Linked DNA regions of Homo sapiens: region 1 is linked to region 2. Evidence: promoter capture Hi-C in human tissues and cell types (Jung and others, 2019). All regions are on one chromosome and are shown on one strand. The core of a region is centred on a gene start or on the middle of the fragment in contact, and the rest is flanking DNA. Distances in the headings are between cores, read along the strand shown.

Region 1 (2,700 bases), core at 175-2,674, 1.4 Mb after region 2:
ATAAAGGATTTGTTAAAATACGTATTCCTGGGCCTCATTTCCCTGCCAGGTTCTGAATGAGGAGGTCTGAAGCAGGTGCAGGAAATACAGGTTCAATAGCAAAACACTTAACCTCTTTGAAGTCTCAGTCCAAATGTCACCTGTGTAAGGTTTATCCTGACCACTCTATCTAAAATTGCAACACACATACAACCTCGTCACTCCCCAGCACCTCACCCTGCTCTCCTTTTCCCCCTAGTGCTCTCACCTGTTAGATATTGACTTGTTTCTTTTTAATTTTTTTTTTTTTGAGACAGGGTCTCTCTCTGTCGCCCAGGCTGGAGTGCAGTGGCACAATTACGGCTCACTGCAGTGTCAACCTCCTGGGCTAAGACAATCCTCCTACCTCAGGCTCTCAAGCAGTTGGGGCTACAGGTGCACCACCACACTCAGCTAATTTTTGTATATTTTGGTAGAGATGTGGTTTCACCATGTTGCCCAGGCTGGTCTCGAACTCCTGGGCTCAAGTGATCCTTCCACCTCAGACTCCCAAAGTGTTGGGATTACAAGCATGAGCCACAGCACCCGGCTGACTTATTGCTTATACTTGTTTGTTCTTGGCCTCCTTTGGCCAGGACCTGTCTTCCTCATTGCTGAATCCCATGAGCCTGGAGCCATGCCTAGGTCAGTAACTCCCTGTTGAAAACAACAGAGACTGAAGGAAGAAGTAACTATAATTAATGCAGGTGGTTCGAGATGCACACTTGGAGAAACACTGCTCCAAGAGCATGAAGTTGGCACCAGCCTGACGGGGGTTGGGTCCCAGCTCTACCCACCTGCTGTGTGACTTCAGACAATTTCAGCCTCCTGCGCATCAGTTCTCTCTCATCTGTGAAATGGAGACAATCCTTCTATCTTAGGGCTGCAACACAAGGATCCAGTAATATAACCAGGCACAGAGCAGGACGCTGCAGCGATACTCCCTCCCTTATCTTCTGGGTGGAATTTTGCAAGCAACGGTGTCTGAGCAGAAAATGAATCTGAAGCCTCCCAGGGGGGAGGGAGCACATTCTGTTTCTCATCAGGCGGAGAGGCGGGGAGGAAGAGTGAATGGAGGTCACCCATCGAGGGGAGTGTATAAGTCATCCCTGCCGGCTACCTCTGCAGCTCACAGGACACACGTTCACCTCCCTCCCTCCCTCCTTCCCTTCCCACCAGCAGAAATGAACAAGCAGTTTCTCTGAGTAAACAGATGATAAATCACTGGCTAGAATCAGTACTCCCGCCAAAGCAGCATCATTGGAGATCTCAGGCAGAGCAAGCGCACGTGCTTGGGGACTGCAATTTGGGTTTAGAGGCAGCCCTGCCAGGCCTGCACACTGCCGGGTGAGCATTCCTCCCCAAACAGCCCAGCCCGCTTCCCCGGGGCTCTTGGAGTAAGTCCCGCAGACTCTTGCCAGCCCCACCTGGAAGGACTTAAGCTCCAGCGTGGGGGATGCGGGTGAGATGGGAACGAGGATTTCCTGACAGCGATCCTGGAATGGGTGACTGAGCTTATAGACTTTTTCTCTGAGTTTTATGAAGCAGATAGGATTTGGAGGTAAAGAGACAAAATAAAAAATGTCTACACACACACACACACACACACACACACACACACACACACACACACAAAGACAAACACATTATACACCCCAAAGAGAGGAAAAGAGAACAGCCCCTGCAGAGGGGGATCAGGGCATCTGTCCACATGGATGTCAGGACAGTGGCGGGGACACACAATCCAGAGTCCAGAGCCCACGTCCAAGCTCCAGCTCCACCACTCACTGTCCAGTGACCTTGGACCAGTCTCTCTCCCAGCCTCCTCTCGGGGTTTCTTCCTCTTGAAGCACGAGCATGCATCCCTGATGCTCCCTGAGCTGATGTTTCATGGGTCTCTGATTTCCAGTTGGGCCCTGGCCAGGCGCATTGCGGAGGCAGTAGGGAAACTTGCCCAAATGTGTGGCCACCCCAATCTTCTTGGCCAGCCCCCAGCCCCAGCTGAGATCCAATTCAAAGCTTGGACCTTTACTTTCAGAGTCTACGATGGAAGGAGCAGGATTCGTACTGACGTCCCACACCTTTTTCCTGGCTTTCTGTCCCCGGTGGAGGCTCTGTGCCTGGCAGGCTAAACGCCCTCTGAGCTCTTAGAGGCAGTTTCCACCCTCAGCCCCTGCCCCAGCTGTGACAGCCTCAGGGTCAGGCTGAGCCCTGGAACCGTATCTGCTCATCTGGATTCAAGGAGAGACTACTGTTCTTCAAAGTAACCCCACTCCCGGTGGAACCCAGCCGCCACTCCCACAGGGCTGTCCAAAGTATCCCACTAGAGACCCCAGCAGGAGCTTCTGAGGAATTAGCGTGGAAAGGGATCTGCCAGGGTCTGGTTGTGTGACCTTGAGCAAGTCCCTTACCCTCTCTGGGTCTCAATTTCCCCACCTGGCTGGGCTGGCTCTGTGCCATCTGCCCAATGCCCTGTCTGGCCGCTGGCAGCCTCTCCCTCCCTGGGGCTGTAGGGAATGCTCCCCTCACTGGCCAGCCAGGGGTGGGGTTCAAATGGGGGAAGCCAGGAGCAACCCTTGCAGTCAGGGCTCCAGGCAGGAATCAGAAGAGAAGCCTCCGCCTCTTCTCCCCAGCAACATCTCTTCCCATCTTAGAATTATGGGCTGGCAAAGCCAGGGAGGC
Region 2 (2,700 bases), core at 123-2,622:
AAAATTGGCTTATCTATTTGTAGAGAGCACCCAGAGACGAGCGTTAGAGCAGCGCTACCCTGGAGTACCAGTTCTTCGGAATGTTGACCGCCGGCCACGCACCGCTTGACAGCCACGGATCCGCTGGCGGAGCCGCAAGTTACAACCCAGGCGCCTGGCAAACTCACACTACACCTCAGTAGCAATAATCCCAACGGCAGGACACCTGGGGAGGGTGGGCTCGGTCTCCCGGGCCTGGCTCAATTATGTTCCTTTACACAGCATTCAATCATGTTTCAGGAGCCGTAGGTGAGGGGCTGGAGGTGGGAGTGGGGGACACATTTTCTAGCCCCCGACGTCTCCGCGGTTGGAAACTCTGGGCACCTCTTTCGGCCAGCGCTAAGACAATACACAAAGAGCAGGGAACCGGCGCTCCTCTGCGGCCAGAGCTCCGCGCCTAGTCACGGAAGAGCTGGGAATTAAGAATTCCGAGCTCAGCGAGAGCCCTGAAGAAGCACCGGAAATGCTTCCGATCGCTTCATAAGAGAAGTCAATTTGCAAATCAAAGTTGCAGGAACTCCGGACGCCTAGACTACTTCAGCGGGTTACTCGGGAACACCCAACAAGTTTGGCCACCGGGGGCTCGGCATGACAGCGCCGCGCCGCGAGACGACAGAAGCAACTTGTCGCTCGGGCGCCAAGCCAGAGCCCTGAGCCGTCTCCGCTCCCAAGCTCGGGAGAGCACCCAAGAGCCGGCGTCGGGAAAGCGGAGGTCCCTGCCTCCGGCAGCCAAATCCCTCAACTGAAGGCACCTCAGGGGCTCACCTGGACTGCACTCGCTTCCAGGGGCTTCCCCCAACAGTGCAACGCTTCACCGCGAACGCCTCACCTGCCTGCCAGCCCCAGGTGGCGGAGAAATTAACAAAAGAGCAAGCGAACAGGGGGAAAGGGAGACCCGGCGTAAAGTATAGTAAGGAGGGGAGGGCAGGCAGCTCGGCTTTCGGCGGAGAAAGAAGAGAGAGGCGGAACAGAGATGGCTTATACCCAAGGCACCGGCTCGGGAAGGCAACCCAGAAGGGAAGAGGTCGAGAAGCGGCAATGGGTTTTCTACTCCGCTTCCCATCACACACACACACGCACACACACCTCCCCCTTTTTCCTCCTTACCCAGCATGGAAAAGATGAAATCCTTGGCTGTGTGAATCTCCAGCGCTCTCTGGTCGTCGTATTCCCGCTGGTCGTGCTTCGTAAATTCTTGGATGAGTTTGTTCAATTCCTCCACCCGAGCTCCCGACCTGAAATCCAGCTCCGGGAACGCAGGCTTGTTGTTACAGCCCAGGGAGGCTGCCTTGTTGGCGGTGGGAGCCGCCATCTTCATGCAAAACGCGCCGAGTAGCAGCTCCGCGGCAGCGCGGCACCCACCCCCGCCCCCCACCCCGCCCCCCTGGGCCTCCTCCCCTCGCAGGCTCCCAGGCTTTGGCCCCGGCTCGTGGGCGGGTTGGCGGGCGGGCGTCTGGGCGGGCAGTCCCCCGCTCCGTGCGCTCTGGGCGTGCGAGCTTCGGGAGGAGCTGGACTGCAGCGAGGGTGCGTGTGTGGCCCCGACACCCTTTTCTCCGGCCCCACGCCCGCCCCGATGCTGCGCGTCCCTGCCCTGCCCTGGCCCTCTCTGGCAGCGGCAACGGCGGTCGTAGAGCCAACTGGAGCCTCCCCCGGGCGAGGAAAGTGAAGTGGAAACAATGTGAAATTCACCAGCTCTGAAATCAACAAGCTGCCGGCTCCGGTGTTACGGAGCCAGCACCAGCGTCTCCATTTAAAGGGACAGCGCACCCAGTGGAAAGGAAAATAAATAAATGACAGAGGTCTGCACGCATATACCACTTGCCAATCCGTACTTGGGAAGACGCGCGAGGTGTGGATGCATTCTTTCTCCACCTCCACGGCCGTCCCCCCATCCCCTTTCTGGGCAGGGTTTGCCAAGCGCATTCAAGGAGAAGAAAGTCTTCCTCCGTTTGATTTTAAGGGCGGTGTCCTGGGGGAGGACATCTCTGTGCGCGTTTACCTCTCTATCCCAAGAACTCCAATACCTTTAAATAGTAAAGGAAACTGCCTTAAGGAATATGAAACCTGTCTTCTACCCTTTTCCTCTTGGATTGCCAAGATGATAGGATTGAGCGTATAAAAAAAGAGGGTCCACATCTAACCCAGTATTGGCACTCCCACTAACCCCTAGATATCCCTACCTTTGCCCAAGGTAATTAATGACCTGAATAACAGCTTATTTATCTTAACATATAATGAGTTAATGAGATTCAACCTACTCTAATATAAAGATAGGGAAACTGAAGTGTGGGTGTGGGAGAGGGGAAACAATGTATTGCCCCAGGTTCCAAGAAATGTTGGATGACAAGATGAAAATTTTCTCATTCAACAGATAAAATTTGAGTACGCACCATTTGCCAGATGGAGTGACAGAATGTGACAGTGATAACCAAAAGACATGGCTCCTACCATGGAGTTAGGCTTACATGACAAGGCAGGTTCAATCTAAGTCATAGTCCTTTAGGCAGAATAGAGTCTCAGAGGTGGTTTTAGTGTTTATGGGGTGTATCATTCAAACACTTAGGAGGCCCATTGGCTGTGAGAAACATAGGTTATCTTCCTCCCTAATTCTCCAAAATCTCTCTTCTCTATCCCACAGTCCCTGATTTAGATCAGGTCTGT

The links. The method cuts DNA at HindIII sites, captures the fragments that hold promoters and counts their contacts. A contact is called where the count stands out against the background at its distance.
Region 1: a fragment that was not itself captured here is called in contact with the fragment with the promoter of MB21D2 in region 2 in 1 of the 25 tissues and cell types used here (dorsolateral prefrontal cortex).

The regions. Positions count from the first base shown.
Region 1 is chr3:194,311,786-194,314,485 of GRCh38, forward strand. It overlaps LINC00887 (long intergenic non-protein coding RNA 887), which reads right to left and starts at 1,019. Exons shown (of 3, transcript NR_024480.1): 1 at 816-1,019. The HindIII fragment of the contact is 5,116 bases long and covers 1-2,700 here.
Region 2 is chr3:192,916,484-192,919,183 of GRCh38, forward strand. MB21D2 (Mab-21 domain containing 2) reads right to left here and starts at 1,373. Exons shown (of 2, transcript NM_178496.4): 1 at 1,147-1,373. The coding sequence starts at 1,357. RefSeq lists an enhancer at 339-668 and a silencer at 1,319-1,678. The HindIII fragment of the contact is 14,649 bases long and covers 1-2,700 here.